Linked DNA regions of Homo sapiens: all the other regions are linked to region 1. Evidence: promoter capture Hi-C in human tissues and cell types (Jung and others, 2019). All regions are on one chromosome and are shown on one strand. The core of a region is centred on a gene start or on the middle of the fragment in contact, and the rest is flanking DNA. Distances in the headings are between cores, read along the strand shown.

Evidence for each region. Contacts are between HindIII fragments. The study calls those that stand out against the background at their distance.
Region 2: a contact is called between a fragment that was not itself captured here and the fragment with the promoter of DCTD in region 1, in 1 of the 25 tissues and cell types used here (H1 embryonic stem cells).
Region 3: a contact is called between a fragment that was not itself captured here and the fragment with the promoter of DCTD in region 1, in 1 of the 25 tissues and cell types used here (dorsolateral prefrontal cortex).
Region 4: a fragment that was not itself captured here is called in contact with the fragment with the promoter of DCTD in region 1 in 1 of the 25 tissues and cell types used here (dorsolateral prefrontal cortex).

What each region holds. Positions count from the first base shown.
Region 1 is chr4:182,915,948-182,918,933 of GRCh38, reverse strand. DCTD (dCMP deaminase) reads left to right here and starts at 1,548. Exons shown (of 6, transcript NM_001921.3): 1 at 1,548-1,623. RefSeq lists a silencer at 1,207-1,916. The HindIII fragment of the contact is 4,495 bases long and covers 203-2,986 here.
Region 2 is chr4:181,265,111-181,268,096 of GRCh38, reverse strand. No RefSeq gene overlaps it. Among named protein-coding and RNA genes, the nearest start is that of LINC02500, 1.6 kb to the right of the region's middle. The HindIII fragment of the contact is 6,307 bases long and covers 1-2,986 here.
Region 3 is chr4:181,598,118-181,601,103 of GRCh38, reverse strand. It overlaps a transcript of TENM3 not described here. Among named protein-coding and RNA genes, the nearest start is that of TENM3-AS2, 230 kb to the left of the region's middle. The HindIII fragment of the contact is 3,906 bases long and covers 1-2,986 here.
Region 4 is chr4:181,669,426-181,672,411 of GRCh38, reverse strand. It overlaps a transcript of TENM3 not described here. Among named protein-coding and RNA genes, the nearest start is that of TENM3-AS2, 160 kb to the left of the region's middle. The HindIII fragment of the contact is 6,092 bases long and covers 1-2,986 here.

The DNA.
Region 1 (2,986 bases), core at 299-2,798:
GTATGGGTTGTAGGTTGGTAAGAAGAGAAATGGATCTATGAAGACCCAAAGACTGTAGATGAGTGTGACAAAGACCAAGCGGTGGATTTGGGAGGAGGAGGGAAACCAGGGGCTCGGGATATATGACACATTTTAGCGGCAACAAGACAGCCATGTAAAGTCAACTTGAAATTAAAAATCATCATCTTAATCTATGTGGCTCTTTCAAGCCTGAGTCTTATCAAGGCAAAAAAAAAAAAAAAAAAATCTATAGTTAACGATGAAGTATTTCTCCCTTTTGCTTTCCCGGCATCCACCAAGAGCAGTACATAATTTAATTATTGAATCTACAAGCTGGACCATGAGATGAAGAATGATGTGTCTGCTGTAGTGAGAAATTAGATAGAACCAACTGTTTACTCTCATCATTCTTCCTCCGTTAGGCTAAATTAATATAGTTAACAAGCTTTTGTTTGGAATAGCAGTTCAAATCTGGGATGTGCAGATCAGAACTGGCGATTATTACAGTAGCTGTTATTTATGGAGTGCTGACAGTCCCCTCAAGTCCCATGAATGAAACAGAAAGGGGTTCTTCTGTCATTCTCTGTGCTAGAACCACTGTAAGGGGCTAGACGTCTGCACAGGGTAACGAAGTTCATGAAAACCAGATTAAGTTGCTTGGGGCATACGACTCCAGAAATGTCACTGATGGTCTTTCCTATTGCCCTGTTTTTCTCATCTTTGAAACAACTGCAACAAAATGTGCACTATATAAGTGGGCGAGCATTACCAGGAGGTAACATGCAGGTGGGGTGCCTGTGCGGTGATACGGGTCGAGCAGGGCGCGGCAGGCTTTAGCAAACACCTCAGGCCCTTCCGCACAATTTGAGCAGAAACTGAAAGCCTGTCAGGCGCAGCCAAATGCAAATCTAGCTTCGAGGCACTGAGCCTCGAGGCACAGCGCCCCCGCCGGACCCAGTTCCCTGCCCCATCCAGTGTGTGAAACTGTGACCCAGCCACCGGCCAAGGGTCCCCACGGGGACGCTGCGACACAGCGGGCTCACTCCAGAGACCCAAACCAGGTCTCCCCACCTCCCGCCCCGCCAGTTTCACGGCACTAGATTCTTGGGGTCGTCTTTTAATCACAATCTCCATAGCCGTGTCTCTAAGCAGTTGATGGAACACGGATGGTGGGGAAAACCTCACCACCGCCACCACCACCAAACCAAGCAGCCCCCGACGGTCGTGCAGTCAGGCCCGGGAGCGCCCAACTCGCGGCCACCCAGCGCCACGCGTGACCCGGGCAGCGGGGCGACCTCGGGGCGGTCTGGCACCCGGGAAGTAGTTTGTGCTCGGGCTCTGAACACCGCCGGCCGGACCGCGGGCTGCGTCACGGGGACCGGGAGGCGTACGGCGACGCGGAGCAGCGCCTTTGCGGCGTGCGACCCGCCCCCGCCGTCCCTCCCTCCCTCCCCTCAGGGCTTCGGGCCCCCGGGGCCAGCCGCCGTCCTGCGAACGCGCGGCGCCCGGGCCGCTGCCCCCTTCCGGCCCCGCGGCGGCCCCGCCTCCTCCCCCGACTTCCTTCCCTGAGCACGGCGGCGGCGGGGACGAGCACCGGCCTGCGCGCGGAGCCGGCACCGGATGGTGGGCGGGGGCCAGCCGTGCGGGTACGCGGCCCGCGCGCCCCTAGCCACCGCCGCGTGGCACCGTCCCGAGCGCGTGGCGCGGGGCGCTGGCTGCCGGGCGGGGGCCTGGGGCCGCGGACGCTGGGGGCGCCTCGGCCGCGCTCAGCCTTTAGATCGGAGAATGCGGGCGGGGTGGGGGCGCTCGGGGTCCCCGCAGTCACTCCAGGGTCGATTTCTCGGCGGGCGCCGCGGCCTGTGCGAGGCCGGGCCCCTTGGAGTGCCCCGGGAGGTGGTGCTGGGCGTCTGAACACCACATCCCTTCCTGCGCCCGTGTGTGGGTTGGGAATGCCGGGTGTAGGCCCTGGATCAGAGCTGACGGGGTTGCGAGCGGCGTGGGGTGTGCCTGGGACGGTGACCGGATGTGTCTTCCTGAATCGTTGTATTCGAGCTCCAGTTCTCTCTGTTTCTACAGCTGGGCCTCAGTCCTCACAGGGCTCTAGTGGGCGTTCAGCCACACCAGGAGAAGGCGCCCAGGGGATTAACAGGACCCTTCCCTCTCCTGCTCTTCCCTCGCCCCCCATGGCTCCCCCTCCCTCCTATTTAGTAGGTACTTCTCCAGCACCCCACAGCGATGATGGATGCTGGCCCTAAAGCCAGGTGGGAAACCAGGCTGATTCAGCACCTGTCTTTTCCTGTTAGGGGGGTTGCCAGGCCTCTCAGATGTGGGGCAGCGTAATCAGTGGGTGACCGTGGTTCCCAGCACCCACTCTCCACTGCATCCTTGTCTTAGGCACTGCCGCCCTGCACTGTAGCAGATGCCTAAATAAAGTGTGGAGCCTGAAGCAGAAGTTTTGGGAGATGCTTGCCTTCCTTTAGACCACATTCCTCGCCTTTCTCAAGATTTCTCCGTGGTACCCACCCCGTTTTTGTGTTGTCTTCCTTCCTTGCCCTTGTTTCATTCCTTTTGAAAGCGACCACTCCCCTGAAGTCCTAGGACCCCCTTCGTGGGCTCTCCCTGCCGTAGACAGTCTCTGCTTGCCCCTGGTAAACTACGTTCCAAAAACCTTGCTTTAGGAGTAGCACTTGACGTTTTTCATAGTTTCTTCTCATGTAATTCATTACTCGGAGTTGATAACTTCTGTCCCATCTGGATTATTGAGGAGAAAGGGAAGGGAAAAATTATCTGGTTAATATCAGAGTTGGGAAGGCTTCAGATGTTTTCTTTGAATCCGTCTGGCATGGATGATAATCCTGTGTGGTTTAGGTTAAGTTACCTAAGTTCTCTGAGTCTGTGTAAGATGGGATGGCACTGTCTACCTTAGCTAGGAGTAAGGCTTGAGTGACATGATGTGTATAAACTTTAACAATGTCTGGAATCTATA
Region 2 (2,986 bases), core at 315-2,814, 1.7 Mb after region 1:
GCATCTGCACTGACAAGGAAGAAATGATTGTATTATCTCAGTTGTACCTGAGATGTTTCTATATATCAATGAACACATGAAAATTATTTATGTCTACTACAACCCCACTATTATGGAACCATTCACTCTAAATAGACTTACTATTTATTGCATTTGATAGTACTGAGAGAGGCAACAACATAATTTATAGTGTAATATCAGTATATAAATAGCAACATAATTTATAGCGCAAGTAATATCAGTATAATCTCCAGCCTGACCAAAACCTAGTAACTTAGGTTTACAGCAATAAACACAATTGGATAAATTAAAGCCAATTCAGGTGTTCTGTATTATTTTCCCTTACATTTAAGAAGTATATGTATTTAAATTTCATTCTATGTGTTATTATTTTAAAAACTCATAATCAATGAAATAATTATATCTATTCACACAGAACTGAATTTCCTTAGGCTTTTGAAAATCTAATTTGACCACTTAAAACATCTCATTCATTCATTCATTCATTCACATATCCACTCCCCAAATATTTATTATTCAACGAATAAACACTGGTCACCTTGATGAACAGTGAGAAGTAAATAAATTTTTCATGGAACTTATATTTTAATAAGGAAAGACAGATAATCAATAAATGTATAGGATGTATAAGTCAATACATGAGATGCCTAATGGTAATAAAATATGTAAAAATAATAAAGCAAGATAAAGGGCATAGAAAGTGCTGGGGCTGTCATGAAGGGCTTGTAAGGCATGGTTTATTTTACAGAGAGTAGTTAGGAAAGGCCTCATTGATAAAATACCATTTGGGTAAAAAAGAAAAACTCTGAAGGAAGTAGTGACTCACACAGGAATAAAACTTTACTTCCCATATCTTTATATTAAAAATTTTCCTCGTATATTAGAAAATACTCCTTATCCCAAAATGAACACCATAACGATTTGTGACTAAATTTTCCAAAGTGTCTATTTGTAGGCTAACATGTCTTCTTGGTGTTCTGTCTGCCAAGATACTTAAGTGATCTTATACTTCAGCTTAATGAACACTTAAGTTCTTACCCTACATAAGACTCTTTTTGTCTGCCCAATAACCATTTCTCCAACAACTCTTAGAAGCATTTTACCTTTCCTTTGGGAGTTGAGCATTCCTCATTCTGAAATGTGACCCAGGTCTGGTCAATCAGGGTGGCCAACTTCTTCCAGCTCCAGAAACTGACTCAGAAAATGCTTATGATACAAGAGAGGTCAATCAGAATCTCTAAGTGTCAGCCCAGATGTTGTGGGTGAAACTATGGAAATATGTACTCCTTTTTGCCAGATTTCCTTATCATTAGATATGTACTTAGGATGTAAGCCTGAAGTTTCTGAAGTTCAACTTGTCAGTAAGAGAAAAGACAGTGTCAGAAAAAAAGCCAAAGGAGAGGAAAGCAGATTCGAGAACTGTACGGGAATCCCTGACAGTATTGTTTCAACAGCTAGATCCAACTAGGCCTGAAGCTGCTACCCATAGACTCTATGAGATCCAACAAATTACCATAGTTCCACTAACTATTAGGATCACCTTTATTATACTCACAAGTAGAAGCCTCATAACTAACACAAAGAACCAGCTACCTCAATTCTACTTACTCTACAGTTTTTAAAAGAAAGAAAAAAAGATATATGACAGTAAGAATGGCTGTTTCACTATCCTCTCATCAGCCTGCTTTTTATGCATTTCTTTGTGATGATGATCATTTGGTTACTTTTGAGTAGCAAAATATAGTTTTTATTTCAGCTCAATAAATATTTTATGTGCACTTAAATGTATAAGAAACTTACCTTGCACTGGGAACATACAAAAATGAAACAAGACAAGTTTCTCATTCTGAACACACGGTATTGAGCTTGCATGACTCACAGTGTGCAAATTGTATAGCCAAAATAAAAAAAAATACTATATAAATCCTATGAGTACTATTTCCCCCATTAGATATTAAAAACACTGAAGCCATGAATTGTATTGTTTTTCCCTAAGTTTCATCTCTAACACTTGTGTCTAGATTATTAATATTTGTAGAATACAACACATATTTTTCTTTGAGGCCTATCAGTCTGGAAGTGTCTTCTCGGGACAACTGTTAAAACAATGTGCAATTGCGACCGTGGTTACCTCTCATTCAATTAGTAACTTTATCTGCTAATAAATGATTTTTCATTCATATCTGGAAGACCTTGAAATCCTCCTAAACAATACATTTATAATGATGCAGTGATGGTTTTGAGATAAAGTATTCTGCAACAATGTCTTTTAGGAAAAAAAAAAGATTCTTATGAGAAAAATAGAGAAACAAAATATAAGTCAATATACTAAGATTAAGAACATAGATATGTATTTTCTCTTCCTTCCCACATCTCATTCTTTCTGTAATAAAATGATCTCAGCACTCGCACTGCCTTCTGATTACAGCAAGATTGCAAGACTTCTGCAGCTTTCCTACTGCAGAGCTATTTCTAATACCACACTGATCCTGAAATGTTTGCCATCTCCTTAAAGCACCTGCTGTAACTCCCGGCCATACTCTTCTCCCCACTTTAAAAACTAGATCTAACCCAACCATCAGGCTAAAAGTAGGAAATACAACAGTTTGAAGAAATGCAAAAATTTATCTTGTATTCTATTAAACGGCAGGCACTGCTGAAATAAGTTATGCCTAGGCACTTGGGTTCGGGTAAATCAAGTAACATGATATATTTTTTACGAAGGGGCTGTTTTAGCAAACTGGGCAGACCTACTGCTCTGATTTCTCATGCATTGTTTTACTCTCATTAAAATGTTTTTGGTTATACGTCATTATCTTTTACTTATCCACTAATGGTCTACAGACACACAAATATCAGGCAGGTGAAGTCTTCCCCCATCCCCCTCCCCCAATCCCGCTGCACCACTGCAGGCCTGGGTAGTAGCAAACACACCGATCTGCGCCCTGTCACTGGTTTAGGAAGC
Region 3 (2,986 bases), core at 229-2,728, 1.3 Mb after region 1:
AAATTCTTGCCGATGTGCACCGGTAGTATTGCTCTTAGATCAAGGCAGATGGGACCCCACTCTGGGCTCTGCCCACTGGAGGAAGCTGCAAATCTCAAACATGGAAATGCAAAGGGCCATCCTATCCCCTAGACCACCACGCTTCTGTGACCTGAGTGGGCAGAATAAGCAGAAGCTAGACCAGACTCTAGCACTTCTGGGAGGAGAGCAGACCCACCTGAACCCAAATTGAGACTAAGTCAAGCTTTGTTTTTTTTTTTTCTTTTTGGTACTATAAGACATTTTCTTGAAAATTGGAAAATGGTGCTAATGAGAATGACAGGCAAGGAACTCACCAGGTACCATCACAAGTCGAAGGATGCCTGTCTGAATGTGAGAGAGTGGGTGTGTGTCTACGGCAGCAGGGAGCAGCCACGGCCCTGGGATATCAAAGAAAGAATGGCTCCCACCCAGAAGCCCCAGCATCAAGGGCCAGGCAATCAGAGTCCCCAGGAAATGCATACTGCCTCCCTTAGGCAGTTTTGAGAGGTACTTAGGACTATGTGAAAATTTCAAGTCAGAAATGCAAGGAGCTAGGGAAAGTGTTTGCCTGCCTTGGCTTCCGGGAAAACTTGACTTAGTCTGAACTTGGGTTCAGGAGGGTCCAGTCTTCTCTCAAAAGTGCCAGGGCCAGGAACAGGCTGTGGGTCTCTGGGTATAAGGAGGACTGGGGCAGTGGTTGCAGCAGGATTTACAACACTTAGTATGAGATAACCATGTGCGAGCCTCCATTTATCCTCTTGCTCTGGAGCCCTCAGATTTTAGAGGTAGGTCTGTGTCAATCAGAATGTTCAAAACAGCATTCTGTGCAATAGCAAAAACCTGGAAACAACCCAAGTGTCCCCAGAAGAATGGATGAATTCACACAATGGTATATTACACAGCAGTGAAAATGATTGAATCACAACAATAAGGAACAATGTAGCTTAATCTTAGCAATATAGTATTTGGTGACAAAAGAAAATCACAGGAGATTACATGCAGCATTAGCTGTATAAGTCTGAAAATAACCAAAACTAAAAATATCTGATTGTTAATCATACACACGGATGTGGGTTAGAAGAAAGAGGGCGATACAGTCACGATTCAGAGGAGGGGTTTCTCTGGTCTGGGATACAGGGAAGGAACTCACCGGTAAATGTAAGTTATTGCGAATTGTCTAGGTCTGGGGCTTGTAAGATATATTCACAAGTGTTAATAAATTTGTGTAATAAATAAGTAAAAAAGGAATAAATAATAAAAGAAGGTCATAGATGAGTAAAATATAGAGATGAAGCAAGTATTATTTAATTTTGTGCACAAATGGTCAAATAATTAAAATACAATAAAATTAGCAATTACCTTTTCCAATGCAGTGTTCTTCACTCCTAAATCTGATCTTATTTTTTAAGGTGCTATTACCACACCTTGCCCAGATAGAATAAGCACAGAGGTAAAAAAAATACTAGAGAGCTATATTAATTACTTAGTGCATCAAAATTCTTGCTTGTATATACAAATGCAGTTGTGTAGGTAACAGGAATATTTCAGTGGTAGGAGAATGTGTGCAAGTTACTTTACCACTGATAAGTTGTGTTCAGTGTCTCTCTTATTGTCCAATAATTTGCCTGTAACAAAGAACTGGATCATGTAATTTATTGTGGCCTTTGAGAATGTTTCTCTGTTTGCCCTCCTTAACCATCGACGTTACAGTGTCCTGCTGTTGCTTTTGTTCCGTTTTTTAATGTGGCATTTATAATTACAGTGTGATTCACTGAAATCGTCTCTCTTTGTGCTCTACGTCTGCTGTTTGCACAGAACGAAGGGAATAATGGTACACTTATTCAATTGGGGTGCCTTGAGATAATGAGGTCCTTGAATAAGGTAGCTCTGCTCAATGTGGTTCCTTTATTCTCTTTAACTTGGTAGAAATATTCTACCTATGTGCTTGTTAGTATTTGGGGATAACTCGATATTTTTGCCCCTGCCTGGATACTTACACAACCTTTCACCTAACTTGTCAGTTTCAACCATAGTTGCTGAGAAAATAAAGCTGAATGAAAAGCTTCAGGTAGTTAGACTGTCCATTGGTTAACATTAAGCACTATTTTTTGAAAAGGGCAAGGTAAGTAAAAGAAGACAGAAAATTTTGTTTTCATCAAAATTTTCACCAGAGCTATAATATTACTGTACATACATTTGAAAAACCTGCGTGTTTAAAAAGAGTCCAACAGTCTCTTATTTTCATAATACTTGAAAAATGGCAAATTGTTCCTTGAATTAATAAGCAAATGATTACTCTCTTCATACTCATATTTTCATTCTGGTCAGAATTTCATAGCTGTATTATTACAAGATGTAATCTATTTCACTTTTATGGTTTTCTTTTTTTTTTTTCTTATGCTTGTTTAATGATGAAATCAGGATATGTTAAACATTGGGCTTTTGATCATGGAATAATGGTTACACAGGCAACATCTAAAATTCTTTGCCTCAGTTTCAGATGTTTACCTTTGTCAAAATATCTTTTCATTGTGTCCCATTAAATCATAAAAAAATCCTTTAAAAATATTCTTAATTAAAAAAATCTAAAGAGGAGTAACATTAACATTTCTTCTATTTAGCTGGGGGTTAGGGGAAAAAATGAGCTTTGTTCAGAATGTTGTCATTATCACCCCAAATCCAATGTTGAGGAAGGTGGTCAACCACTGTTGTGGGAAGGATAGAGATTTTAACTGGGATCTGTAGTACACGTAGTTCAGGAATGAAAGCCCTAGAGCCTTAACTGAAACTGTGACTATGAAGCTGCTTAGAGAAATACTATGGGATATTAATAGCTAGAGTTAGCAGTTTGTTGAATTTTGTGTTGTAAACGGAGAAGAGAGGGAGTAAGAGAAATGTAGAAGAAAAAGTAGATCATGGAACTACAAATTCAGGGAAATTGCATTGCTTAGCACGTGAAATTAGC
Region 4 (2,986 bases), core at 226-2,725, 1.2 Mb after region 1:
GACTGACAGTGGGTACCCAATAAATGTTAATTTTCTACTTTTTGTTTGAAAAGCTAGTATTAGTACCAAATATAGAAATAACAAATAAAGCAAATATTGCATTTATAGAGTTCCAAATATGTGTTCAATCTCACTTAAAAATCACAGTGAACTTTGTATTATTATTCTCTATTTCACAGAAGAAGTGAAGCTCAAAGAGGGGCAAAGATCTGCACAAGATGGGACACTGGAGCCTTGTGGCAGTTTTACTACATTACAGAGTCATCTGGACAGACTATCACAGCGTTTTTATCATGATAGTACATATTTGCAGTATATTCTTCTGCAGGTGCAAACGTGGTTATTGACCTCTGTAGAGGGGCAAAGATTTTAAGGTGCTATCCAAAGTATATATTTTGGAATTTTGCAGTCTAAATTTCAAGAGATGTTATCTTTTTATCAGGAAAAACAAAAGCAGGGAATAATCCTATTCCTAGTCAGTCTTGAGATACAATCTATCCCATGAGCCAGAGACAAGTAAGAAATGCGTCCCTGGGCCAGGCTGATGACTGTCCCTGTCTGAGACACTGGAGCGCATCAGAAGGAATCATGTTAATGTATGAACCAGAGCTACCAGGTGCCAAGCCCTTTGCTCATGGCAGGAAATGCAAAGATAAAAAAAAAAAAGTAAAGTTTGCTTCCTAGGAATAACCAGCTGGATGGGAAAAGTAGGCAATTAACTGGGTACTAACCTGCTATGCAATAATTATTGTACGCTGCTTGGACATAAAGAGCCACAGCAGGAAATGAAATAATGTACGTCGAGCACCAAGTGCTAAGGTGCTTTACATGGTTTCTCTTATTTCATTCTGCTACTGACTCTGTGAGGCAGGTATTATTGTTCAAGTGAAAAAACAGAAACTCAGACAGGTGAACAAACTTGCCCTAAATCATACGAGTATTAAGAGGCTAAGCCAGGAGTTATTTAGGTATGTTTGCTCTCAAGATCACACTCTGCCCATTTACTGCAGAGAGATCCAGATGATCTGAAACTTTCTGCAGTACTCTGCGACAGTAAATACAGCTGGTACAGATATTTACTCCTGTAGGAGTAAATATAACAGCGTTCTCATATTACTTTATGTGTATTTAATATATGGGTCAATTTATTCATGACAAACTTTAGCAATAATTGCTCTCATATTTATAATAGGAGGTAAGTTGACCATAATTTTTGGAAAACATGAACTCACTTGTTAAGGAGTCTAATTTACTCCACCTCATATTAGGCAACTCTCAGAGCTCTTCATCACTTTCTAATTCTAACCGTTTACTTTCACGGGGAACATTACCTATCCATGTTGGTAGATCATTTTCTATAAATTATGTACAACACAAGCAGCAGTGTATAATGCCACTACTTAAATAAATATGTATTCTTTATAGTGTCACAGGTGAAGTATTGAAAGAAATGATATAATTTGCCAAGAATCCCATTTTGAAAATAACTTGTCCAGAATGCCGAACCTGTGCAATGCTGGCTTTTTTCTGCTGTTTAGATTTTTTTGTAATAAATGTGCGTTATAATAAAATATTTCAAATAAACACTGCATTATTAATGAATCTTGTGCTTGCCCTAGGGCAGCTGAGTCATAAATGGTTCATTTAAATTCTGGGTTCCTCCTGCGACAGACACAGTACTTCTAATAGTTCACTATGTGAAGACTGTACCTTCATTGTTTCCATTTCTACCCAAATGCTACTTGCTGATGTAATACCTACAGTGTTGAATGCCCTACAACCAAGTACACATTTTTTCCCTCTTAACTTCAGTGCCTTGTGTCTACAGCAAAACTAGTATTACTTAATATTGCTAGTATTTTCAAAAGATCACATATATGGGTGAATTTCTTCTCTAGTTCCACAAGATTCACTGCCTTTTTTTCTATCTTTCATTGGGTTAAAAACAATTTTAAGTGATGACAAGATGCATGGTTCTTAAATTGTGCTGTAGATCATTTCGAGGCCAAGAGAATTAATACAGCAGTATCACTTTGTGCTTTGGGACATTAATAACCTAGAATTACCAGAGAAGAAAACACGGTTACAAACCGGTCACTCTCGGCAATTACTTTTACCACAATGGGACTAAGGGACGGACCCTTTTACCTCCTCATTTTTCAAATTCATATCTATGGCACTATGCAGTTTCCATTAAATATTACCTAGTGGTTAATTAAAAATTATGAAATGGTATTCATTCCAAAGTATTAATCAATACTTGCAATCCATTTACCTTGAGTGTACAGATCAATTTCTAGAAGTCAAATTATAAGCTGTTTATCTTCTACATTTTTTCTTGGCTAAGATATACTTTTGGAGATAAAAAGTATATCTATGAAAATAAAATTTCATAGCTAAAATTAGAAATTGTAAACTGCCCTTTAACGGAATAATCATAAGATGTGTTTTATTAATAGCCTGCTAAGAAAGCCATCTTTTACATTCTTTCTACACCAGCTTTCAACCTGTTGCTGATGTGCTGGAATGTTTCAGCAGGCTGATACACACCGAAGTTCTCCCTAGAGGTCCCATCGAACAAGGATTTCAACACACTCATAACATTCTTAAACAGAGTGGGCTTCATCGGTGGACCCCAAAGTCAAGGTCAGATGAATCCACTGAACAGGCAGCCAGGTGTGTCAGGACTAGATAGACATCCCAGGTTTGCAAGTTAGAAAGGGGGCAGAGAAGCAATCAGTTCTTGTAGGTTCCTCTGTGCTGATACGCTGGGGGTATCTGGTCTAGCAAAAGTGATTCTCAAGTCAGAATGGGGTAACACTGGGAAATTACCGAGGAGGGAAGAAGGGGAAGAAACCCTCCTTGCTAAGAACCCTAACTCAGCTTCTCCATTATATCTAGTAAAGCTCTATACAAAGAATGCCCCACATAAGCTGTATGACATGGGGGTATATTGTGTATTTCCTTAAAAGGCAGGGAATTTAGA